Regions from separate parts of the Homo sapiens genome. Here regions 1 and 2 are each linked to region 3. Evidence: promoter capture Hi-C in human tissues and cell types (Jung and others, 2019). All regions are on one chromosome and are shown on one strand. The core of a region is centred on a gene start or on the middle of the fragment in contact, and the rest is flanking DNA. Distances in the headings are between cores, read along the strand shown.

Region 1 (4,120 bases), core at 1,008-3,507, 1.1 Mb before region 3:
TAAAACCATCAGATCTTGTGAGAACTCACTCACTATCACAAGAACGGCAGTGGGGATCCATGATCCAATCACCTCCCATCAGGTCTCTCCCTCAACAATATATGATTACATTTCAAGATGGGGGATTACATTTCAAGATGGAGGATTACAATTCAAGATGAAATTTGGGTGGGGAAACAAAGCCTAACCATATCAACTAAGATGCCGTGTACTCCTAATCTCGCCCTTACTACTTCTCCTGTTCACTCCACTCCTGCCACAGTAGCCTTCATGGTATTTCTGAGAAATACTTGATGCACTCACACCTCAGAGCCTTTGCACTTCTGGCCCCCATGCTTGTACCTCTGTTTCCCAGGAGCATTTACTTCTTTTTTTCCTTGTGATCTTTGCTCAAGACTGCCCTTATCAGAGAGAACTTCTCTGACCCCATTATATAAAATAAGTTCTCCCCATTCCAATCACATCTCCATTCCATGACTGTGTTCTGCTTATTTTTGTCAGAGCATTTGTAACCCCTGACATGTTGTATATTTATTGTTTGTTTCTGTAAAGGAATGACAGTGGGGACTTGGTTTTGTAAACTCCTTTACCCACCTTTTTTGGAACATGGTAGATGCTTAGTATCTATCTGTTGTAAAAATGAATATATGAATGCATACAATTGATATAGGGATTAATTCAAACCACATAATGTCTGTAAAATGCATAGTGCTAGACTATGGACATAGTAGATGTAACTCTACTTATTATTGCAAGCTATGTGTAGGCTGTGCCTTACCTCCATTCATGATCATTCACAAAGCAGAGGCCAATCTGGGAGAATTTGGGAGTAAGGCTTGACCTTTCTTATCAGGACCTCTCCAGTGGCTTGTTTAGACAGTAAGTAATGAAAATATCAGGTAGAGACACACCTGAAAGAGGATTACTGAATTCTAACAGGATGGCTGAAAATAGACAAAAATCCCCCAAATCTATCCTTTAGAGATAACAGGCAGCAACCACTACAGAGCACAGGTGAGGAAAGAGCCAGAATTGTGAACAAGCTTCACAGTGAGAATGATTTCCACAGACTGAGGCTGGGGCTGACTGCAGGCCAGGGGTGGTGGTGGTGGTCATCATCATTTAGAATCTGTGAGCTTCAGAAAGGCTTCTCCTTCTCCCCTTCATCCCCATCAACAGTAAAATTCCAGTGGTCCTAGTTGTAATATATTCTGAGATTTCATCAGAGCAGCACACAGAAATAGCAAGGGGCAAAGTGGCGATCTCATCAGAGAATCTATTATATATACCCTCACACAGACAGCCTATTGCACATTCTTTGATGACCACACAGGGATATTGTTTACACAGAGCTGCTTTATTCTAGCAGAGATCCCCCTGAAGAGCTGCAGGAGCCATTTACAGGCTGACAGCAGCAACCACTAAGGCGAAAATCATAGCCACCTCTAATCTGCTTCCTACTCTCTCCCACTTGGTCCTTCCTTCCCTGGCTTTCTCTGGGTGGCTGCTTTTGCATGCATTTGTGTTACCACCTGCATTTGCCTCTCCTTTCTCAGACTCCCTTCTTCTCCCCTCATTTCACTTTTCCTTCTCTCTGCCTCTTTCATCACCTAGTATTTACCCAGTACCTAATGCTTGTTAGATGCTGAGGTTGCCCATGTGGCTATGATGAAGATGGCAGGAGCCTGCTTCCTGTCCTCATGGAGCTGATGGTCAGTTGCTGAGTGTGTGTCTTCCAGGGAACCGAAGAGGAGGCAGGAGAGCTGAACTGTGATTTTCAGGGGAGGTGGGGAGTTAGGGAGCTATCTGGAGAGGCATTTGAAGGATGAATTTGGATTTGAAGACATGAGATGGGCAGAGCCTTTGAACAGGAAAGGCTAAAAACCCACAAAAGCCTGAAGCTGGGTAACTGCCAGAGAATAGAGAGCAGCTAAGTGTAACTTCACAGTAGCTGTCTGGTATACCTACTGTATGTCAGGCATGTGCTTAGGCACGTGACATAGAAAATCTCATTTAATCCTTGTTTAAGACTATGATGAGTAATTCTCCTTTACAGATGGAGAAATGGAGGCTGAAATAAATTGTGTAACCTTATCCCACAACTAGTTAGTGGTCGAATTAGAATTTAAACACAGATTCTTAACCACTAGGTTTTACTACCTCTTGAGGGGAATAGCAAGAAATCTGTTTACAGCAAAGAAGTGACAGCCAGATAGTGAAGGGTCTTGGATGCCGGTGGAGTTCCCAGTTTCCTCAGTAAGTGATGGTTATGGGTGGAGTGGGGCTCTGAAAATGTTGAAGCAAGGCATGAATACATGGTTTCATTTAATCTTTGTCTTACCTGAGTATAAATAGGCAAACACACACAAATTAAACTCCCTCACCAAGGTTAACTTTCTCCTGTCCTTTGCATCATCCTACACATCACTGATGATGAAGATAGTTCTGTCTGAGCTGTTTCGTGTCTTTCTATTTCACATCTCCTTCCTAGTGTCTTGATTACTGTTCGATACTGTGACAAGGGCGTTTTAATACAGCTAATTATAACAAGGTTCTAAAAATCCATATTTAATCCATATTGGCTGTTGCAGATCCTGTGGTGCTGGTTTGTTTTCTTTCTAGTGCATTATTTAGCAATGAAGAAATTTTCTGGCTCAGAAATTGTGGGCTCATTATCATTTTCATAGTTATATGGTAAACATATTCCCAAATTGCGATGTTAAATTTTCTAAGAGTCCCCAGGAATTTCATTTTCTTTAAAAATTTGCTTATTACTCATTCATTAAATAGATTATCCTGAAGTAGATAATACCATCTCTCGTGAATGCAAGTTTCATTACCTTTCCTTGAGGTTAATAGATGAAGGTCAGATATAAACATGCCAAAGAGCTTTTAACTCTCTTGGTTACTGGCTGTATTTTAAAATATTCCACTCAAGTTTTGATTTGGGACTTGACCTCTGAGATCTTCAGTGTAGCCCCCAAGGTAGAATGCTAAGTAAATGATCAGTCTGTCTTCAGGGAATTGGGACTTACTGTCAACAGTTTCACACATTCTAAAGATTTCTTTACTTGGGAAGAGGAAGAAGGTACTAGTTTGTTCTTATCATGATCAAAGAGGCAAATGTTTCCATTTAAGCTTAAATCAGGTTAAGATAGCATGAAGCCTCCTCATGATGAGCATATAAAAGGAGGAGGGAAGGAAGTTGAAAATAAGTAAATATATCCAGGATAATTCTTAAGCTCTAAATGTAAGAGAGATACTTGTGTTGCCTTTCCTTCTTTTCATTTCTGGCAGGTCCCCAAATTCTCTGGGTTTAAGGTCATGAGACTGCAAATAAACAGTCTGACAATTATATATACAGTAGTCTAGGGGGAAAATCTTCTGGTTTTAAGATTTGTGGTGTGCACTTCCCCAACATTGGTGGAATATCCCTGATGACACACCACCTTGGTAGGTGAAGCATATCTATTTTCTGCATTAATTCATGTATTGATTCATATTCTTCATCCCTACTACAAGATAACTGGGATGGTTAATTTTGCATGTTGACTAGACTGGGCGACAAGATGCCCAGATAGCTGGTCAGACATAATTTCTTGATGTGTCTGTGAGGGTGCTTCTAGAAGAGATTGGCATTTGAACAGTGGACTCAGTAGCTAGCCCTCCCCTATGTGGGCAGCCTCATCCAATCTGTTGGGGGCCTAAATAGAACAAATACATGGAGGAATGGAGGACTCATTTATTCTCTCTTACTGTTAGAGGGATATCGATCTTTTCCTGCTGTCAACACTCCTGGTTCTCAGGTCTTCAGATTGAACTTGAACTTACACCATCAGCTCTCCAATTCTCAAGTCTTCAGACTCAGGACTGGAACTATACCACTGGCTTTCCTCAGCTTACAGCTTGCAGACAGCAGCTCTTGGGATTTCTTAGCCTCCATAATCACATGAGCCAATCACTTATAATAAATCCTCCCCCTCTCCATATAGATAGATAGGGATGGAGATATAGGTACATATATATACCTATATGTGTACCTATATGTGTACACATACACACAGATATATACATATACACACTATATACATATATATGTGTGCATATATATATGTGTACA
Region 2 (4,397 bases), core at 483-2,982, 1.1 Mb before region 3:
TACAAAGAAATAAAGAATCAAGTTTATGGGAATAGCCTCAAAATAAGACAGAAAGCTCTGAGTTAGAACTCTCCTATGAACAGACTCCATGAACCTTCATGTGGTTATTATGGCATATATTTGGCATAAACTGTGGTAGTCTGAATAATGTTTCTCCCACAAAGATGTCCACATTCTAATCCCCAGAACCTGTGAATATGTGGGCTTGCATGACAAAAGGAATGACCTGTGAATCCCCATGACCTGTGAATATGTGGGCTTTGCAAATGTGATTAAGTTAAGAATGTTGAGGTTAGTCCTAATTATCTGGGTAAGACCAATGTAATCACAAGAATCCTTACAAGACAGGGATCCCCACCCCCTGGGCCACAGAGAGCTACTGCTCCGTGGCCTGTTAGGAACTGGGCCACACAGCAGGAGGTGAGTGGCACACAACTGAGTGAAGCTTCATCTGTATTTACAGCCACTCCTCATTGCTCACATTACCATCTAAACTCTGTCTCCTGTCAGATCAGCAGTGGCATTAGATTCTCACAGGAGCACAAACTCTACTGTAAACTGTGCAAGTAAGCGATCTAGGTTGCATGCTCCTCATAAAAATCTAATGCCTGATCTGTCACTGTCTTCCATCACCCCCAGATGGGATCATCTAGTTGCAGGAAAAGCAGCTCAGGGCTGCCACTGATTCTAAATTATAGTGAGTTATATAATTAGTTCATTATATATTACAATGTAATAATAATAGAAATAAAGGGCACAATAAATGTAATGTGCTTCAATCATCCTGAAATCATTGCCTCAACCCCAGTCCATGGAAAAATTGTTTTCCATGAAACTGGTCCCTTGTTCTCAAAAGGTTGGGGACTGCTGTTATAAGAGAAAGACAGAGGGATAGAAGAGGAATATCAGGGTGATACAGTAGAAAACTTGACCATCCATTTATTGCTGGTTTTGAAGCTCAAAGAAGGGGTCACTCTAGAAGCTTGAAAAGGCAAGGAAATGGATTTTCCCATAGAGCTTCTGTAAAGAATGCAAGCCTGCCAACACCTTGATAGTAGCCTAGTGAAACTAATTTCTGATCTATAGAACAGTAGGGTAGTAAATTCATGTTGTTTTGAGCCATCATATGTGTGGTAATTTGTTATAGCAGAGGCAGGAAAGTAATACATAGACCATTTTCTTCCCTGACTCTCTTTTATATTCTCCTTTATATTGCTAAGGCACTTTGCATAAATGAGATTGTCCTGTGAATAATAATAACAATAGATAATGTGTACTAAGTGCTAACTGTGGGCAGGCTATTATATCTATCATTTTCCAGTGGTTATATAATTTATTCTTCAAAATAGGTTCATGAGATAGAAGATTATTTATTTCATCTCTAATTCTTAGAAAGATTAAGTAACTTGTCCAAGGTCACAGAGCTTAAGATTGATACACAAAAAGCAGCTGGACACCACAGACATTCTTTTAACTGCATACAGCATATGTATGTAGGTGTTGAAGCAGGATAGCAAGTCAAAAAAGTGGTGACCATAATCTTGGGATGTGGCAACCCTACAGTCAACACAATAAGCTTCAGCATTCGCATTGTACTCAAGCTCAGTCAAGCAAAGCTATCTTCAGTGGGAAACTTCCCCTGTAGAGAGCAAGCACGTTTTGATTTGTCCGGTCCTCACACTGACCCTTTGCTCATTATAATAGTAAAAAACACACCCTGGGTGGAGATTTAAGATACTGATGAGACATGTGACATATGAACAAGTATGTACAGCTACTGCGCATGTGCACTCAGAGGATCACCCAGAACATGCTTACTAGTAACACCTCTTCCCAACCACCTATGAATCATCATGTAAGACTCCCACAAAGGGGGTCTCCCTAGTGCCTGTCTTTGCTGTCTCATCCTTAGGAGCAGCGTGCCCCGAATCCTCTCTCAGGTTGTAATGTCTATTCTGCACCGAACTTTCAGAGCATTCTTTCTCCTTTGCAATAAACTGCTCTATGCTGCATCTCCTTAACTGTGTGTCTCTTGCTTAAATTCTTTTAAACTAAGAAGGCAAGAACCTAGGTATCACAACAGCTGTCAACAGTTTCTACATGTGGGGGTAGAGATGGATATACTCACATACATCATGAACTATGCTCCAGAAACCCTGATCAAACTTGATGTAGAAAACTTTTAGCATAAATAAAATAATAGTAAAACACTACTTTGAAACACTGCGTTTAGAATATGCATTCACACTTTCTCAGGCCAAAAAGTTACATTTCATACTCATGTGCAGCTAGCTATAACTTAAAAATGGACCAATAAATCAGGTCAGGTTGAAGCAGTTTAATCCAAGGAGCTTAGTTTCCATCATCAGGTCTGCATTATGTAAAGTAAGTGCAGTAAAGAAATACTTTTAATATATGTTTCTCTTGTTGTAGTATAATAGGTTGTAATGGATGGAAATTAGGTACTTAAATTTTTGAATGCAACTTATTAGGTCATTTTCAATAACTTTATTCAAGGAACTTAAAACTTACTCAACTTGAAAATCATTGAGACTGTGGAGCTATTCTAAAGGACCACAGGAATGTTTACATTTCTATAATAGAGACGCCTGCTGTTACTGTTCAGAAGAAGGTGGAAGGGGGCTTCTGTTTTCTGGTGTTTAATACTGTGCTCACTTCATGCAGGACATTTAAAGACTAAAGGGGGAAAGCCCAACTTACTGCGTGTGTGCTTTGGGGACTTCCCTCCTCAGAATGTGAGCTTTCTCATTTATCAAAGAAGGCAACGGCTGGGTGTGGTGGCTCACGCCTGTAATCCCAGCACTTTGGGAGGCTGAGGTGGGTGGATCACGAAGTCAAGAGATCGAGACCATCCTGGTCAACGTGGTGAAACCCCATTTCTACTAAAAATACAAAAATTAGCTGGGCGTGCTGGCACGGGCCTGTAGTCCCAGCTACTTGGGAGGCTGAGGCAGGAGAATCACTTGAACCTGGGAAGCAGAGGTTGCAGTACACTGCACTCCAGCCTGGTGACAGAGCGAGACTCTGTCTCAAAAAAAAAAAAAAAAAAAAAGAAGGCAACATTCCTGGCCTATCCAGCAAGGTTGTTGGGAGGCTGAACAAGACCACACATGTGAATGCACTTAGGAAACTGAAGTCCTACTGAAATAAAACAGGATTATTGTTAAACTTTAATCATAATAGAAAACACAAAACTACTTAGCCATTAAAATCTGGATCTTCTGAAACAGCGATGTGAAGGGGGTTAGGAAAAGGGAAACAGACATGAAAACGCTTTGGTTTTATAACATTTCTATTTAAGAAGTTGGAGATTCTTTTTGCTCTGCTGAGAGCCTGGAAGGAAATGATATAAAGCTACTTAAGCCCTCCCCAGGTCTTTATTTACATCTGACTTATCCTTGTGATGTGCTGGATATCTTGGCTATAGCCAGGTTTTGAGATAAGGAAAAGCCTGGATGATTATATCTGCTTTAACAACATTGTTAGCTTCCCCCAAGATTGATATATATTCAAAGTCTCACGTATGCCTACAGGTAACCCCTGGAACTGAGTCAGAGGAAAGGCTTCCTCTTAGCAGCTCTGAGCCAGTTTTCAGCATCTGCTCAAGGGAAGATAATGATAGAACATGCGGATTTGGAGGAAGCTGAAAACACTGAAATAGAGCTTGGAGTTCTTCCCTGCACCTAAAATGCCTGGAGCCGGGTCTAGCATGAGACAGGCACTGAGTGAATGTTTATTAAATGTCAAATGACTGAGGCTATTATCTGACGTAGCTGCACAAAGTCAAAATAGGGTGTAAGGTAATCACTGCAGTAGGAGGAAAAGAAAGAAGAAATTACTGCAGAAACTACCCCACCCTTAGAGTAGTGATCACTCTCACATAATGAATTAGCAAGCAAAAATATCCAGACAGCTATAGCAAATATTGAATGGAATTGTCCATGAGACAATAAAGACGGAGTTTTACCAGAATGTGACCCTTTTTTCCAAACTTAATTGGATTAAGCTAGACTGCTTGGTCCAATCCTGGCTCTATCATTTACAAGCGGTGCGACTTTAGTCCGATTCCTTATCTTCTCTGTTTCAGCTTCCTCATTTGTAAAATGGGGATGATGATAACAACAGCAATTCTACTCTCAAAGTCATTGTACATATTAAATCAGTTAATACATGTAACAGCTTAAAACAGTGCCTATAATGTATTAATTGACTGTGGTAGGCTGATAATGGCTCCCCAAAATACATCCACATCCAGTACCTGTATGATGGTCAAGGTTGTGTGTCAATTTGGCTGGGCCATGGTGCCCAGATATTTGGTCAAACATTAGTCTGGATGTTTCTGTAAAGGTGTTTTTGGGGTGAGATTAACTCTTTTT
Region 3 (3,986 bases), core at 273-2,772:
GAAACGTCTGATCTGGGTTGGAGACTGGTGACCTAATCCTTTATATTTGAAGCCATGGGAGTGGATGTTATTAATGAGAAAGTTCAGGGAAGGGGAGCAAAGAAAAAGGTCAAGGGCAGAACCCTGAATCACACCCACTTTTCAGAAACAGTCAGGCAGGAAAACAACAAGAGGATACTAACAAGGAAAGGTCTGCAAGATGGAAACACATTTAGGCCAATGGGACCTCAGAAGCTGCAAGGTCAGAAGGGTTTGTGAACCCAAAATTATCTGAGACAGGTCTCAATTTAGAAAGTTTATTTTCCCAAGCTTAAGAATGCGCCCCCAACATAGCCTCAGGCAGTCCTGATGACATGTGCCCAAGGTGGTTGGGATACAGCTTACTCTCACACATTTTAGGGAGACATAATACATCAATCAATACATGTAAGATTGGTTGGATCTGGAAAGGCAGACAACGAGAAGCGGGTGAGGGGTGGCTTCCAGGTCATAGGTAGATTTAAAGATTTTCTGATTGGCAACTGGTTATTATCTAAAGACCTAAAATCAATAGAAACGAATGTCTGGGTTGCAATAAGAGGTTGTGGATACCAAATTTGATCGTGGAGATGAAGCCTCCAAGAGGTAAATTTCAGAGAACAGATTGTAAATGTTTCTTATCAGACTTAAGGTGTGTGTTGATGTTGATGCTGGCTGGCTTTTCCTGAATTCCAAAAGGAAGAAGGGCATAATGAGGCATGTTGGACCCCCCTTCCCATCATGGCCTGAACCACTTTCTCAGGTTAACCTTGGCAGAGAGGAGGGGTCCCTTCAGATGGTTTGGAGGATTGGAATTTTATTTTTGGTTTACAGTTTCAAGGAGAAGCAGGACAATCATGTCAGAGAGCTTCAGTGAGGTTGAAAATGCTCCACCGGATTCAGCAGTCTTGAGGCTATCAGAATCCTTTGGCAGGGCAGGGGTTTGGAGGGGTGAGGGTAGAGGGATGGAGAGGAGGGAAAAGGACAGGCAAAGGGGCACGGATACCTCCATCAGGGAGTGAGCATGCCCCCACACAAATTCCTTAAGGCACCCTGTGAGGCTATCGCCTTGGCACAAACCCTATCACATGTCAGTCAACTTCCCGGCAAGCCGCAGACCTTTAGAAACCTTGGTGTGCGTTTCCCCGCTCGGTTTAGAACGCACCCCTGCCTCCACTCCACAAACGTGCAGTGAGCCCTCAAAAACCTGGACAAATGACCTCACCTCGAAAGCCCCCTCTCTGATGCTCCCAGGAAAAACTAAAGCACCTCACTTTGTTTCGTCCGTACCTTACATGGTTTTGTAATTATCTGTGGTGCCTCTGGCTGAAATCAAAACGGGAGCCAGACCCAAAAAGTCAAGGAAGGGAAGCGCCTTCCAGGCCACTCCTGAGAAGAAACGAACTACAATTCCCATGAGGCGGTGGGGCCACGGGACCACAAGTCCCAGCATCCACCGCGCGGCCCAGGACTGTCAGGGTAGTGGGCGTTGCGTGAGGCGGGTAAATGTTCGCGGAAGCGGCAAAGACGACACGGCCTTGTGGGATGGCGGAGTTTAAGGAGAAGCCTGAGGCCCCGACTGAGCAGCTGGATGTCGCGTGCGGCCAGGAAAACTTGCCGGTGGGCGCGTGGCCCCCGGGGGCCGCGCCGGCGCCCTTCCAGGTAGGGGCGGGGCCAGGCGGCGCGGGAGGCGGGCGCGCGGCTCCCCCACGTGGTCTCCTCAAGCCGCCTCGCTGGGACGGCCTCCCAGTCGCGACCTTTTGTCTTCTCTTACAGCGCACCCGTTGGTGCGCGGGAATAGGTGTGCATGCCCCGGCCTGGGCCTTTTTCTGTTGACCCACGGCATCACCTTAGCAAGGGTGTTGTCCTTTTCAGTCCATTCCCTGAAGCGCAGAACCGGAGGCCTTGTGAGAACCTGGCTTTTTGTCCAGTCCTGTCCTCAGAACTCAAGGAGGCATCACGGGGGGAGTCATTTACCTCCCTGGTCTCAGGTGTCTCTCACAGGTAGGATAAGCCGTGGGGCCTATTAATGGATCGCAGCCGGTGTCGTGCATAAAAACAGCCCCTCGAGTCAGCCTTAGCTGTGGTCTCCCTCACGCTGTGGGCTCTTGGGCGAGTGTAAATTAGCTGTGGCTCAGCCTTAGAGTCTTCCAGCGTACAGTGGAACAGTACCTCTCTTCCGGAGTGCTTTGAAAATGGCAAGGAAAATACACTTTCCGGTTTGCTGTAAGAACTCAGTAAATGTTTGCTTCTATTAACTACCTCAAAGCCCTTTCTACTCTCCTTTTTCTTTTTGAGACTGAGTCTCGCTCTGTCGCCCAGGCTGGAGTGCACTGGCGCGATCTCGGCCCACCGCAACCTCCACCTCCCGGGTTCAAGCGATTCTCCTGCCTCAGCCTCCCGAGTAGCTGGGATTACAGGCATGGGCCACCACGCCCGGCTAATTTTTGTATTTTTAGTAGAGACAGGGTTTCTCCATGTTGGTCAGGCTGGTCTCGAACTCCCAACCTCAGGTGATCCGCCCGCCTCGGCCTCCCAAAATGCTGGGATTACAGGCATGAGCCACGCTCCCAGCCTCTACTGACTTTCTTATCCCTCCGACCTTGGCCTGAGCGTTACCCAAGGAATAAGGAATGACCAAAGATTTTGAAGTGGAAAGAGCGCTGGACGTGGAAGTTGGAGAGTATGGTTCGGAGCTTAGACATCTTAGCTACTTCCCAGAGCCTGAGTTTCTTCATCTGCAAAATGAAAATAATAATTTAAAAATGCATAGCCCCTTTAACATCCATTATCAACAATGAACCCTATCTGCCCTTTCTTTTTCCTAGGGGTTTTTGTGAGGATCAGATAAGATAAGAGATTCAATAGCAGCTTTCAAAGATGTCAAGGAAAAGAATCAAACTCTAAAATATTTGAAGAGATTTATTCTGAGCCAAATATGAGTGACCATGGCCTGTGACACAGCCCTCAGGAGATGCTGAGAACATGTGTCCCAGGTGGTTAGGGCACAGCCTGGTTTTATACATGTTTGGGAGAGAGGAGACGTCAATCAAATACATTTAACATGTACATGGGTTTGGTTCAGAAGGCGGGGCAACTCAAAGTGGTGGGGGGGGCTTCCAGACTATAGGTAGATTTTAATTTTTCTGGTTAACAATTTTTCTGGTTAACAATTGGTTGAGTTTGTCTGAAGACCTGGGATCAATAGAAATGTTTAGGTTAAGATAAAGGGTTTTTTTTTGAGACGGAGCTTGACTCCATCACCCAGGCTAGAGTGTGGTGGTGCGATCAGCTCACTGCAACCTCCGCCTCCCAGGTTCAAGCGATTCTTCCACCTCAGCTTCCCGAGTAGCTGGAATTACAGGCGCCTACAACCACGCCCAGCTGATTTTTGTATTTTTAGTAGAGACAGGGTTTTACCATGTTGCCCAGGCTGGTCTCAAACTCCTGACCTCAAGTGATCCACCCACCTGGGCCTCCCAAAGTGCTGGGATTACAGACGTGAGCCACCGCACCCGGCCATGTAGAGACCCAAGTTTTAATTGTGGGGAGGAGACTCCCAGCTGACTTCAGAGGGAGCAGGTTGTAAAATGTTTCTTATCTAACTTAAAAAGGTGCCTCGGTCTTAGTTGATTATCTCCTTGTTGTGGAAAGAAAGAAAAAGAGGGGGAAAGGGGATTCTCTATAGAATGTGGATTTTTCCCACAAGAGACAACCCTCCAGGGCAATTTCAAGATATGGCAAGGAAATATATTTGGGGTTAAAATATTTTGATTTCTTCCCTTATTTGTTATTTGATGTTATGCCAGAGTCAGGTAGAAAGCAGACCATGCTATATAGGGTTAAAATTAAAACTCCTCTGATGAGACTTTATGGTTTGTAAGGCATGACTCCCCAGGTGCCTTGGGTAGGAATTTGGGCAAGATAAGAAAAAATCAGAGTTTAGTCCTCAAAGAGTAGAATAAGAT

The links. Contacts are between HindIII fragments. The study calls those that stand out against the background at their distance.
Region 1: a contact is called between a fragment that was not itself captured here and the fragment with the promoter of SETMAR in region 3, in 1 of the 25 tissues and cell types used here (dorsolateral prefrontal cortex).
Region 2: a contact is called between a fragment that was not itself captured here and the fragment with the promoter of SETMAR in region 3, in 1 of the 25 tissues and cell types used here (dorsolateral prefrontal cortex).

What each region holds. Positions count from the first base shown.
Region 1 is chr3:3,220,418-3,224,537 of GRCh38, forward strand. No RefSeq gene overlaps it. Among named protein-coding and RNA genes, the nearest start is that of CRBN, 43 kb to the left of the region's middle. The HindIII fragment of the contact is 4,948 bases long and covers 1-4,120 here.
Region 2 is chr3:3,237,694-3,242,090 of GRCh38, forward strand. No RefSeq gene overlaps it. Among named protein-coding and RNA genes, the nearest start is that of CRBN, 60 kb to the left of the region's middle. The HindIII fragment of the contact is 3,395 bases long and covers 36-3,430 here.
Region 3 is chr3:4,301,847-4,305,832 of GRCh38, forward strand. It overlaps SETMAR (SET and mariner transposase domain methyltransferase), which reads left to right and starts at 1,523. Exons shown (of 3, transcript NM_006515.4): 1 at 1,523-1,680. The coding sequence starts at 1,525. It also overlaps a transcript of SUMF1 not described here. RefSeq lists enhancers at 1,120-1,862, 1,891-1,960 and a silencer at 1,461-1,800. The HindIII fragment of the contact is 5,892 bases long and covers 1-3,986 here.